Linked DNA regions of Homo sapiens: region 1 is linked to region 2. Evidence: promoter capture Hi-C in human tissues and cell types (Jung and others, 2019). All regions are on one chromosome and are shown on one strand. Each heading gives the region's core, a stretch centred on a gene start or on the middle of the fragment in contact. The rest is flanking DNA. Distances are from core to core; before and after follow the strand shown.

Evidence for each region. The method cuts DNA at HindIII sites, captures the fragments that hold promoters and counts their contacts. A contact is called where the count stands out against the background at its distance.
Region 1: a contact is called between a fragment that was not itself captured here and the fragment with the promoter of KCNK13 in region 2, in 2 of the 25 tissues and cell types used here (H1 embryonic stem cells and heart right ventricle).

Annotation. Positions count from the first base shown.
Region 1 is chr14:89,972,510-89,979,258 of GRCh38, forward strand. TDP1 (tyrosyl-DNA phosphodiesterase 1) reads left to right here. Exons shown (of 17, transcript NM_018319.4): 7 at 3,272-3,306. Among named protein-coding and RNA genes, the nearest start is that of TDP1, 20 kb to the left of the region's middle. The HindIII fragment of the contact is 7,845 bases long and covers 177-6,749 here.
Region 2 is chr14:90,058,421-90,065,590 of GRCh38, forward strand. KCNK13 (potassium two pore domain channel subfamily K member 13) reads left to right here and starts at 3,574. Exons shown (of 2, transcript NM_022054.4): 1 at 3,574-4,119. The coding sequence starts at 3,786. It overlaps LOC124903406, which reads left to right. Exons shown (of 3, transcript XM_047432048.1): 2 at 1,982-2,491; 3 at 2,942-3,313. The coding sequence ends at 3,206. RefSeq lists a silencer at 1,877-2,266 and enhancers at 2,515-3,016, 3,017-3,516. The HindIII fragment of the contact is 23,188 bases long and covers 1-7,170 here.

The DNA of each region.
Region 1 (6,749 bases), core at 2,849-5,348, 85 kb before region 2:
TATATTCCCATAATTTTGTCCTAATACTTTGCAGTTAGCATACAATGTGGCCAGTGAGTCTTGGACTTTCATTAGGATCCATTTCTTTAGACTCATCATCTAAAAAGATCTTCTATTACACGTGGCGCATTTTGAGCAAGAAACATGCAAAGTAGAAAGGAAAACAAGGAATACAGAAGAATTTCTCACATTTATGATAACTACTTCCTATAGAAATGGTGATTATGAAGTAGCTGGTGTAATAGTCACCTTTTCCTATTTCTTTTGGCTGTATTCGTTTGTTATGAGAAAACACGAAAGATGCTTTTTATAGCCCTTTTCTTTCCTTATCGTTAGCTTAGTGAAATTGGCAAAAGATTTCTGCTCTGCAAGTACAGAGACAGAGTGAATTACATCCTTTCTGGATTTTTTTTCTCATTTTCCTTCTAGTGTCTTTTTTCCCCATCCACAAAGATGTAAGAATTCCAACTCATATTGTATCACTCTTTTTCCAACTATATATGATATCTTTGTATTTTTTTAAGATTAATACAGTACAAGAGCTCAATCTTGTTAGTTTAAACATACCTCACAACATTTTCCTTATGATTTAACCCACTGCACTTTATAGAGTTGTCATTTTAAAAATGCCTTCTATCCAACATGGGCTCATCTCATGCCCATAGATGTGCCTTTGCTTCGCAGTTGCCAAAATTCCATTGTTTTGCTTCTATTTCCAGCAACATAAGAGGTTATACTGCAGTAGGATAGCTCCCATCAAACCTTATAGTGGGCAGAAAGTAAACTGACACAGAAATCCTGAAAACCAGTGACTAAATGAATGGAAATAAAGTCTTTTTCAAATATTACCTACCTGTGCTCGTTTAGGAGAGTGGTTCCTGTGCTTGATAGTGTGTTCCAGGCTGGCCACCAGAGGGCATAGTGAGCCACTTCTTCCAAACCTCTTGGAAAGAGCTGTGAAGAAGCTCCCAACTCTAGGCTGACGTACAGGATTGTGTCCTCCTGATCTCTTGAAGCACCTTTATACCTTGTCTGTAAGATAAAGTCTTTTTCTAGCAACGTGAGTCATTGAAACTGAGACACATTAGTCAGAGAATCGGTGGCTGCTGACCCTCTCCCATTTTGCAAATGTGGGACCTAAGGGCAGACATTGAGACCTTGTGGTGGTCAGAGTCACATTGCCTGGGCTCAGTCCCGGCTCTACGTGTGTGTATTAGTCTGCTTGGGTGCTATAACAAAATTACCTGGGTGACTTTTCTTGGACTTGGGTCGCTGAAACAACAGACACTTATTTCTCACAGTTCTGGAAGCTGGGAATTCAGGATCAAGGTGCCAGTCAGTTCAGTTCCAGGTGAGGGCTCTCTTGCCAGCTTATAGATGGCCACGTTCTCACGGTGTCCTCATGAGGGAGAGGGAGGAAGACAGACACATAGGCTGTCTGGTAGCTCTTGTATAAGGACAGCAGTCCTGTTGGATCAGGATCCCACCCTTATGACCTCATTTAACCTTAATTACCTCCATAAAGTCCCTCTCTGCAAATAGTCACATTGGAAGTTGGGGCTTCAACATATGAATTTGGTGGGGGACAGAAGTGTTTAGTCTACAACACTTATTCTGGGCTTGTCACTGGCTTGTCACCTAATTTCTTTATCTTTGAAATTGATTGCTAATGCTGTTCATCCTAGAGTTTACTAAAGGACTTGGTGCACTAGCCCAAAAACAGCACCCAGTAAACAATATCTATTGAAGCTATTATCCTTGTTTTTTGTGCTTAGACTTACCCAGAAGCATGTAACTTTTAGCAAACGAAACAAAAGCCAGGTCTCTTGACCATTGTTCTTTCTCAGCTAAATATCAGTTTATAGAGTGGCAGTCTTCCTTCTCATTTGGTAATTTTGAAAACATGAAATAGAGTTCCCTGCACTTTCTTCTGTGGCCAGAATGCACAGATGCATGCTGGTCTGTGAGCATCTCCATTCCAAACAGGAGCTGTGTTGTAACTCACCTGTGTATTCCAGTCGCCCATTACTGCCCCCAGCAAAGTTTCACCCATGTCATGTGGTAAGGAGGCTGGGGTAGGTAGTGGGGAGAGGTTGCAGTAGTGATTGCCACGATTATAGAGTGCCTATTGCATGCAGGCCCCCGTTGCTCAGCATTTTACATATGTGATCTCGTTCCTGACAACTCTGGATCTCAGAATGGTACCGTTTTAAAGAGGAGAAAGCTGAGGCATAGAGTTAGATGTATTTTCCAGAGTCATACAAAGTTGTGAAGGCAGGATTTGAGCCCATGTACTGCGTTCCTAATTGTGAAACTTTTACGGTTATTTAAACTCTTTCATAATCTGCATCTTGTGACATATTCTGCTTAACCAAGATCTGGCATTAGTGGGTATTAGATAACATGTTTTCTATATACATACCCTCCATTAGTTTGTAAAGGTGTCATTTTATAACATGAAAATGGATTTCATATGTTTTTATTTTCAGCACTTGCTATGCTAATATAAGAACATTTCTATTTTAATTTAACATCCTAAGTCTTTATGTTGCCACCACTTTCAGTGTTTCTTTTTTTGTTTTTGGAGACGGAGTCTCGCTCTGTCACCCAGGCTGGAGTGCAGTGGCGCTATCTCAGCTCACTGCAAGCTCTGCCTCCTGGGTTCACGCCATTCTCCTGCCTCAGCCTCCTAAGTAGCTGGGACTACAGGCGCTGGCCACCACGCCTGGCAAATTTTTTCATATTTTTAGTAGAAACGGGGTTCCACTGCGTTAGCCAGGATGGTCTCCATCTCCTGACTTCGTGATGTGCCCGCCTCAGCCTCCCAAAGTGCTGGGATTACAGGCGTGAGCCACCGCACCTGGCCTTCAGTGTTTCTTTTAAATATGCTCTGAAAACTGTGTACCATTAATTTCTGTATAAGCCAAATATCTAAAACTTTGCATAGAGACTCACTTGTTTTACTAGTTTTTTGTCAACTAAAGAATTTAGGCTTCTCAGTCCTAATTACTGTAATTAAAAATGTAGTATATATTCTGTAGTGTATAATCATTCTGGGTAACAAAATTTGTGTTTTTTTTTTTTTTTTTTTTAATGAGCGTCCCCAGATGCTATTATAAAAGCTGTCTTGTTATTCAAGGGCTTGCCTGGTAGAGATCAGTAAAAATAGTTTTAAAAAAAAAAGTTGACCTGATTGCTTTCTAATGTAATTTCCAGTAGATATGGATATTAGTGAGTTGTTTTTAAATAAATGACTTCTTTTTCATCCTAGGCAAAGTTGGATATTGCGTTTGGAACACACCACACGTAAGCACTTTTTGTGAAATAGGGGAACCCCTCAAGCATTGTCATTTGTCCATTACACGGTTATTCTTAGGAGAGACTGAGCATGGTAGGCCCACCTAGGATCTAGCACAGCGATGCTTAACTGAGCCTGGGGGAGCTATTCTTTTATTTAATGCTCTTATAAAAATTATTTGGTCTTTCCTTTTAATTTTATAGATCAGGAAACTGAGGCCCAGGTTTAGGTATGTGATTTTTCCTTGGGCCAGTAGTGGAGACAGGAATAGAACCTATTTATTCTAACTTTAATTAATATATACACACAATTTTTCAAGATGTGGTCTCACTCTGTTGCCCAGACTGGAGTGCAGTGGCATGATCACAGCTCACTGCAGCCTCCAACTCCTGGGCTTAAGCAATCCTCCCACCTCAGCCTCCCGAGCAGCTGGGACTACAGGCACACGCCACCATGCCTGGCTAATTTTTTTGTAGAGACAGGGGTCTCACTTTGTGACCCAGGCTGATCTCGAACTCCTGGACTCAAACAGACCTCCTGCCTTAGCCTCTCAAAGTGCTGGGATTACAGGCATGAGCCCCTGTGCTGGCATTAACTTTAGCTTTAAATTTGTTCTTGTTTGCTCATTGCTAAAATTTACCTTATTATTTCCTTTGGTCCATTCACCACTACCCCCTCGCTCCTACACACATACTTTGCAGGTTAAACTCAACAGAGCTCTTTTTTTTTTTTTTTTTTTTTTTTTTTTAGACAGAGTCTCGCTCTGTTGCCCAGCCTGGAGTGCAGTGGCACAATCTTGGCTCACTGCAACCTCCATCTCCTGGGTTCAAACGATTCTCCTGCCTCAGCCTCCCAAGTAGCTGGGGTTACAGGCCACTGCCACCACACCTGGCTAACTTTTATATTTTTATTAGAGACGGGGTTTCACCATGTTTGCCAGGCTGGTCTCAAACTCCTGACCTCAGGTGATCCACCCTCCTCTGCCTCCCCAAGTGTTGGGATTACAGGTGTGAGCTACCATGCCTGGCCAAGAGCTCTTAATTCAGAGTTTAAAATGCCTAGGAGGCTGGGCGCTGTGGCTCATGCCTGTAATCCCAGCACTTTGGGAGGCCAAGGTGGGTGGATTATTTGAGATCAGGAGTTCGAGACCAATCTGGCCAACATGGTGAAACCCCATCTCTACTAAAAATATAAAAATTAGCCGGGCAGTAGTGGGACATGCCTATAATCCCAGCTACATGGGAGGCTGAGGCAGGAGAATCGCTTGAGCCTGCAAGGCGGAGGTTGTGGCGAGCCAAGATCATGCCACTGCACTCCAGTTTGGGTGACAGAGTGAGACCCTGTCTCGAAAACAAAAGAAAATGCCTAGGAAAGTAATTACAGTTGAACTTTTCCCAATTAAGTATCTGTAGTTTACATTTTGTTGAAATGACATTATCTTGTAGAAGATTGAGCTCGTGTCTTGAAATTACTTTTAGTTGCTTATTTAAAAAAAAATTTTTTTTTTGTTGAGACAGTCTCGCTCTGTTGCCCAGGCTGGAGTACAATGGCGCAATCTCAGCTCGTTACAACCTCCGCCTCCCAGGTTCAAGCAATTCTCTTGCCTCAGCCTCCTGAGTTGCTGGGACTACAGGCGTGTGCCACCACGTCCAGCTAATTTTTGTATTTTTAGTAGAGATGGGGTTTCACCATGCTGGCCAGGCTGGTCTCGAACTCCTGACCTCAGGTGATCCACCCGCCTCGGCCTCCCAAAGTGCCGGGATTACAGGCGTGAGCCACCGCACCTAGCGTATTTTTAAAATGTTTTAAGAATTAAATACTTCTTATGTTCTTGACACAGCTCAAGAGGATATAGAGTTTTTATTCTTACAGCTTTTTCTTTGGTGAGAGAAGCAAGACAAACATGTGAATTAGAAAAGGAGAATCACCTTCCAGATCATAGTGATGGAGGGTAAACTGCCTTCCCCACCTCACAGGGTAGAGCTAGAAACAGTGAACGAGGCAGTCTTTGAGACTGCATACACTTTGGCACACAAGCCCTGCTCTGTCCAGTTTTGGTTGGATGCCATGCAATCCCGTGGTCTGTCTCACAGTGTTTTAGAATGGGAAAGCTCTTTGGTTTCCTCTAGAGCTGGGAGCAGAGTTAATTCTTATGGCTCCAAGAATCGATAGAGGGGAAAGAGAAAGCCAAAGCAGCTGAATGTCAAATATCCAGATCCAGGTGGTGGCCAGTAGCAAACCACAGGATGGGCGAGGCATGCCTCTTTCCACTAAGATCTGTAGTCAGGCCCCCACCATGCATCATTTAGTCCTCTTTCCCACCAAGGCCATGTCTCCCCCCACCTCACCTACCCCTGTACCAGTAGCATGAAGTGTTCACCGTTGCTGCCACCAGCCCTGTGAAACCATGTGTGGTGAAAGGAGTGCCCTGGCATCTGGCATTTGTGATCCCAACAAGCTCTTCCGCTGGCCCACTTTGTGACCTTGGATAATCCCTGTTAAATGTCCAGCTGTAGATTCCACAATTGTAGAATGAGAATAACTCCTCTTCTGTATTGCTGTGAAGACTTGGTGTGGTAACATACGACAGAGCTTCTAGGATGGCACCTGGTAGAGAGGTGCTTGCCATATGTTAGTTCTCTTCCCCCTTTGCAGGAATAGCTGCGCATTTGGGTTGGGTCCCTTTTGCTGCCTCACAGCTTAGCAGACAGTATGGCAGGTCAGCATTCTTCAAGGGAGATCTCATTCCTCACCCTTTTCTATCCATTTTTAACTGTGACCTTATTAACACTACCATTTTGTCTATGAAAAGATGAATATGGCTACTCTCAAGTTCATAATTCTATTTGATAGCATTCATTGACATTAGTGTGTGATTTGCCTGATAATCGATGTCTTGACTAATGGAAATATTTGTAAACGTTCTATCATGAATCCATAACTGACTTATTCTTAATTACAATCAGCTGCTGATTTGGCAACTGTGTATGTAAATTTGCCCAGATTTCAGGGAGCACATTTCACAAATGGAAAGAAGATGGCACAGCAGCTGTCATTTCTCCAGCTTTGCATTAATTTACTGTTTGCCAGCTTGGGTTAATTTCTCGTTTTGGCAAGAGCTAAATATCTCATTCTCTTGTCTCTTCTCGTACCCTTTTTCTTATCTTTTTATGATAATTTCATCCTGCCCAGATAATGTTCATGTTGTTTATTTGGAGAGAGCCAGTGGTTCACTTTTTTTTGCCATGTGTGAATTGAGTTTCATCAGTAAGTATTAAGTAGCATTTTGGCCTCAATAGAAATGATAAAATAAGTCAAGACAGAGTTACAGCCATGAGAAGTGACACTTTAGTTGGAGAGAGAGAACTTAGATTCCTGAAATATTGAAATAATCCTATTGAAAACAACAGGGAGATAAAAATCATCCATTATTAGATGAGAAAATAAAGCT
Region 2 (7,170 bases), core at 2,324-4,823:
ATCCCACAGCTTTTTGGAGGAAATTAAGCTGATTCTATGATTTTTTAGTGGAAGTGTAAAAGTTTTATAACATCCAAAGAATCTTGAAAAAGAAGAACAAAGTTAGAGGACTCAATTATAGTCCCACTAAAGACCTACTATAGAGCTATAAGTATGTAAATCCTGTGGTATTAGCATAAGGGTGGGCAAATAATGAACAAATTAAATTCCTGAAACTCAGGCATATTTATCTTTTCAACAAATAGCATTGGAATAACTGGAAATCCACCTGGACAAAATGACCTTTGACTCTTACCTCATACCATAAGGAAACAAACTTAAATGGATCGTAGACCCAAATATAAAAGTGTGGGGAGACAGAAAACCTATGCAACCTTGAAGGAGGTAATGATTTCTCAAAGGGCACCAAACATACAGAAAACATATTTAAGAAAATAAATAGGCAAATCAGAGTTAGAAAATATTTGCAAGATATGTATCTGAGAAAGTACTCGTATCCTGCATATATAAAGGATCTCTATAATTCAGTAACAGAGAAACTAATTTTTTAAGTGGGCAAAATATTTCAACAGAAAATTCACAAGAGAAGGTACACAAGTGGCCAGCAAGCGCATTAGACATCAGGGAAATGCAAATTAAAACCACAGTGAGATATCGCTACATCCACCAGTATTTTTAGACATCAGGGAAATGCAAATTAAAACCACAGTGAGATATTGCTACATCCACCAGTAGTTTTAAAATTAAAATGACTGATACTGCCAAATGTTGACAAAGATACGGAGCATCCAGAACTAGTGTACACTGTCAGTACAGCTGCTTTGGGAAAATGTCGGGCAGTTTCTCATAAAGCAAAATACATACCTACCCTATGACCCAGCAATTCCGCTCCTAGGTCTTTACGTAAGAGATATGAAAACATATGTCTACATAGTTGTACAAGAATGTTCCTAACAGTTTTATTTATGATGACCAAAATTTTCTAACAGTTCTCCTTTCTATCAATAGGAGGAGAATGAATAAACAAACTATGGTATACCCAAACAATGAAAAACTAGCAATAAAGAGGAAGGAATTACTAAGACATATAACATGGGTAAATCTCAAAAACATAATGTTTTCCACCAAAGAGTACATACCGGCATGATTCCATTTATATGGAGATTTAGAACAAAAAAACAGTTCTATAAAAGCGAAAGTAATCGATGGTAGAAAAATTCTGAACAGTGGTTTTCTCTGGAGGAATGTGGGTAGGGAGTTACAGGGAAGGGACTTAGGGGGACCCTGTTGGTGATGTTTGGCTGGTAGGTTGGATAGGTGATTTGCAGAGGTGTACCCATTTGTCAGAACTCACCTAATGATACACTTAAGATTTGTGCATTTCATTGTATGTAAATTTTATCCGAAAAGGAAAAAAATTCTGCAAGTAAATATTGAACCCTACGTAGTGATATGCAGGCAGAAGTACTGGGGATGAGGGCGGAAGTGTACCAAGCTCTGCAACTTACTCTGAAATGCATCCAAACAAGATGGGTTGATGGATGGACAGAGGGACGGGTAGATATCTAATAAATCAAGTATAGTAACATGTTAATTGTAGAATCTAGGTGGTGGGTATACGGGTGTTCACTGTAAAATTCAACTTTTTAGAATGTTTGAAATTTTTCATAATAAAATGGATTTAAAAGGTAATTGCAGTACTCACCCTGGGTGTATACACATGCACCCATTCTCGCGATGCCCCTAAAGCTCTTGCCCCTCAGAAGGCTAGATGAAAGAGGGGCATTGGGGAGTGAGTAACAGAGCCGAGAGGACTGCTAACAGCACCAGGGTTTCTGATGAAAATGCACTCGCCAGAGCTGTGTTTCTTTATTCGAAATCACACGGTTTTACTCAACAGGGCTCCTAGCCCTTCTGTCTCTGCTCCTGGTGCGTAAGGGCGGTGTGTGGGGCTCTGCGCCTGAAACCGCTCTCTCGGAAGGTGGGAAGATGCCCACGTATCCATTCCTCTCCGCGTACAGATTCGCTCCCACACGCCCGGGCGGGTGATTCCGGAGGGCCGCGCGGGGCTGTGTGCGCGGGCGGGGGCGGGATGTGTCTGGAGGGGGCAGAGCGCCCTCTCCCGGCCCCGGAGGGCCCACGCGGACCGGCTGAGCGTCCCACCAGCCGGTTCTGCATCCACTACCCAGATCTGCGCGCCCTGGTGGGAGCACCGCAGCCCCGGGTCGGCCCTTCGAACGCCGAGCGTCTACCCGCGGAGACCAGCGCAGGAGGCGGGCCCGCGCGCAAGGAGGCGGGCGACAGGGTGGAGTCGCCGCAGCTGGCAGCCGCACGGCTCTACCTGTTGCAGCGTCGGAGCGCGCCCGCCTGAGAAGGCAGAGCGCGGTGCGGACCTGTGCTCCGCGCGCCGGCTGGCAGGGCAGGGCCGCGGCTGCCAGGAGGCCCGGGAACAGTCCCGACGGAGCGGCGCGGAGAGGGCGCTCCCCGGAAGGTGAGATCTGAGCGCGGCAGCGGCGCCAGCGCCCGCTACAAGGCGGGGTCTCGGGGAGGGGGCCCCGGCGGTTTGCTGGAGAGCCTTGCTACTGTTCTGCATGAGGTGGGGGATGCCTTCTGCGCGGACCCCGCGTCCAGGCAAAACTCTGGAACGCACTAGGCAGCCAAGCCCGGGGGGAAGAGATGGAACGCTCCAAGGTCAAGGTCTCCTGGCCGCGGAGCCCTTCCAGCCCCCAGTGTTTGGCCTCCTCTCCGGAAGCGGGGCTGGCTCGCGGTGCGCGCTTGGTCCGGGCGGAGCCTACTAGTAGGCGCAGAGGACGCCCCCGCGCAGGATCCAGAGACCAAGGGCGCTCTGGCATGGTCAAGGCGAGGGAGGCTGCCCGGGGGAGAAGCCCCTAACTTCCTTTGCTCCCTGTTCCAACCTCCCTTTCTGGTCTCCTCTCTCCAGCCCGTCCGCCCAACGGATGCGCAGCGTTGGGGCCCGGCCGGAGGTCGGAGCCCTCGGACGCCGCAGCCCTCGGACGCCGCTCAGCACAGCCCCTCTCTCCGTGCGCCCGCCCTGGACCCCCTCCATCCCTAAGCCCCGGCAGCCGATTCGGAGACTCGGGAGGCCACAGGCTCAGCGCGACACCACGACCACAACTAGGAGGCACCATCGTCGATCTACCTGGGGAGGCACCTACAAAGCCAGCAGACTGACACCCGTGTCCTAGCCGTCGGCGGCCTGCGAAGCGATAGTCAAAGGAACCAGGACCCAGGACCCCGGCGCTCTGCTTACCCGCAGACCTCCGGACCGCGCCCCCCCCCCGCCGCCCCGCCCCGCCCCGCCCCGCCCCGCGACCGTCTCTTTGCGGGAAACTCGAGTTGGCTCGAGCTTGCCCTGAAGACGCGCCACGCCCCCTCCCCTATCTGAGCCGGACAGGGAGCCGGGGTGGAAACTGCGCCCGCATCCCAGCGCCAAGCAGACGTGAACTCTGCGCCCGTTCCCCGGGACCTTCAGCGTTAAGGAGAACTCCGAGGAGAGCAGGGGGAGTGGAGGGGAACGGCGGCGACAAAGCGGATTTGAAACTAGGAGTCAAGGAGGACGTGGGGAGCTGGCGCCACAGGAGCTACCGAGGCGGCGGCCGGGGGAGCCTCGCGGCCTGCGGGAGAGCCCGGCGGTCATGGGCGAGCCGGCGGTGGGGCGCCCGGGAGCTGGCTGAGCGCCGGGGCCCTTATTTCCCGGGGGTGTGGGCGAGACTCCGCCGACGCCCGGTGCCGTGGGCCTGGGGGCTGCCCCCGGGGGCCCGGCCATGGCTGGCCGGGGTTTCAGCTGGGGCCCGGGCCACCTGAACGAGGACAACGCGCGCTTTCTGCTGCTGGCCGCGCTCATCGTGCTCTACCTGCTGGGCGGCGCCGCCGTCTTCTCCGCGCTGGAGCTGGCGCACGAGCGCCAGGCCAAGCAGCGCTGGGAGGAGCGCCTGGCCAACTTCAGCCGCGGCCACAACCTGAGCCGCGACGAGCTGCGCGGCTTCCTCCGCCACTACGAGGAGGCCACTCGGGCCGGCATCCGCGTGGACAACGTCCGCCCGCGCTGGGACTTCACCGGCGCCTTCTACTTCGTGGGCACCGTCGTTTCCACCATAGGTAAGTGTGCTGGCCGGACTCGCTGACAACCTCCGGGCGGCCTCCACTTCCTCCGGGGGGCAGGACCGACCCTCTCATCCTTTCATTCATCCATCTGGGCGCCCAGCCAGACTCCACTGACATGAGCTGTCGCCTGATCAACAGGTGGTATTGCCTCCCCGCTGCTCTAATGTGGTCCAGGCACCGGCAGCTTCAGCGTCACCTGGCAGCTTGTTAGAAATGCAGTCTCAGTCCCCTCTGCAGACCTGCCGAGTCAGAATCTGCATGTTAACAAAGTCCCCAAAGGATTGGAATGATCCTTAAATTGGAGACGCTCTGCTCTGGGAGATTTTCAGTCTAATGAAGGAGACACGGCTTGAGTTCATGGGGAAGAAGGCTTTTACAGATAGGGACAGGAAACTAAACATTTACTGAGTCAGTCAGAGGGGAAGTGCAGATTTTAAAAGATTCTGCCCTCGACTTCACACTTACCGAGAAAAAATCAGAACAGCAGACTGAAAGTGAGGAAGCAAAAGTGCCAATGACGGTTCAAAAGATGGAAAATTTTCCACCAGGAAGAACCAGGGAAGTGACCTTTGGGCTGAATCAATTCGTGTTAGGCATAACTTGGGTTTGGGAACTGAAAGCGCGGTTGCACTCTAGAGTAGGAGAGAATCGCACTCAGGGGCCCCATGAGCTGGTTGGAGTGGTGGAAGGAAGACTAGGAAGGTCTGCTGGCTAATGGGATGGAGGCGGGGGTAGGACCTTCACTGACAGACTGAGGAGCTGGAATTTACCTAGAGGCACCTGGGAGCCATTGAGAATTTTTTAGCAAAGATGTAGCACAGCTACAATCAGCTGTGTTTATTTCCCAGCAGAAGGAAAATGATTTGGGGGAGTCTGCGCCACACCCCTAAAGATTGTTCATCCTTGAAGAATAATCAAGTGATTAATGGGGGTTAGGGAAGATGCTGTAGAAATAAATTCTGAGGGGGGCAAAAAGAGACCTGGAGCAGGGGAGGGAGGTTGGAAGAGTTAGACGGAGAGGAAGTGGCCTCCAAGCTGCAAAAAAGGCTGGCAGTTGCAAACAGCCCAGGGTGCATGTGCTGAGCGCTCTGTAGCTACTGCCCCTGTGCACTCTAGAAGAGCTCGCTGGTGAGGTGGGGCGACAAGTTGAGCCTCCTTGAGGCTCCCACACATGGCTGTGCTACATAGACATTCTGCCAGGAGAAGCAGCACAAAAGACAAAAGAGATTGGCTTCAGGTCAGATTCATCATGAAAGACTTCCCAGGGCTAGTCCAGGAATCCAGGGCTTCAGCTGATGCACAGGAGGCGAGGCAGAGGACCAGTATGATTAGGGACACACCGGCTGTATCTGAAGTGCCTGGCTCCCAGCCCCCATCCCATCCCAGATGGTGCGGCCCATCAGCAGGCCATGATGGCACCACCATAACTGGGTATCAGGCAGGAAACCTTGCAGCAGACCAGAATGGGCCCAAGATTGGTGAAGGAGGAATAACACCCCCATGGTTCTCCCCCTGAGCCCACACTATCTGCTGGACTCTTAGCCGTGTTCCACAAGCCCCTCCTCACATCACCTCCCACGTCCCAGAAGACAGTTCCAGAATCTCCACATAGGCAAGACTTGGGATGAACAAACTGATTAGGAGGTGTCACTTTGGAAGTGACCTTGACTCTACTGTGTTTGCATAGCAAGTACAGGATTTTTTTAGATTGAATGGTAACTTAGGGTGGTTTTGATGGGAGATTTGATGGCTGAATCTTTCCCACCACCATGAAAAACCATCTCTTGGTGCTCCCAGTGGGCACAGAGGCAGGAAGGAGCAGAGTGTGTGTGTGGACAGGTGCATCCATGTAGCAGGAACTGAGAGTGGCATGGGTAGGTGGCCATATAGGAACATGGGCTTTGGGGATACGAATATGACAATGTGGCATGGAGGAGTGGAAAGAAACCTGGACAAAGAGTCTGGAGTGGGAGCTTTTCATCCTGCCTCTGTATCTTGGGCAAGCCTCTTAACTATTCCGAGCCCCATCCTTTTCTCATCTGAGGCATCTACAGAGTGCCCACCTTGGTATCTGGCACATCAGCTATTTGGTGAATATTAGTCCTGCCCCCTGCTCCCTCCGTCTGCGTAAGCCTGCCCCTGTCACAGGGTTCTTGTGAGGGACAATGAGCTCTTGTAAGTGCGTGCGTGTTAAAAGGTAAAAAACATGATGTCAGTGTGGGCTGATTTTTATTTCTCATTTGTAACATTTCCTTTTAAATTGTTTCACTAATTGTTGTAATAACAGCACTGGCTAACCTTTATCAGGCCCGTATTAGGCACATACTGTATGATTATTATGTGAATGTGCAATGCAGCTCATTGCTGTGTGACATTCACACTTCATTTCAGCCAACACAACTCCATGAGGTAGGCATAACACTCCCCCGTTATAGATGAAAAAGCTGAAGGTTCAGGTTTTTTGTAAAATAAAGTATAAAGAAGAAAAAAATCAAGTTATATGCAGTAATATCATCCAAATTAACCACTGTTCATGTTTTGGTCCATTTTCTTCTGGTCTCCTTTTTCCTCTGCGTATACTTATATACATATGCATTTTTAAAAATTAGAATTATATTCTATAAACCACTCATATCTTGCATTTTTATTGTAACATTACATGATGGTGTTTTTCCTCTAAAAATTAATTCCACCATGCTTTATTCTGCAAAGACTTTGAGGTAGCAGACAAAGTATACAGGAAAATAATCATAAAATACAAATAAAACTTCAGAACCAGGGAAAAGAAGAACAGAAATACGGGATGCAAGTGGAGCTACGAAGTTGCTAGAGAGGAACTTTGTCTTAGTTTGGGTTCCCTTAGAAGCAGAGCTTGAGCCAAGAATTTGAGTGTAAGCAGTTTGTTGGGAGGAGCAAGGGATACAGGTCGGTGCAAGGGAAAGTGAATCGAGGAAGGAAAGTAAGTTAATCCAGGATACGCTATTAAGGCAGGTGCCACAGTGGGCAACTGGTACCTAATCCCAAATGGAAGCTTGGAAGCAAAGC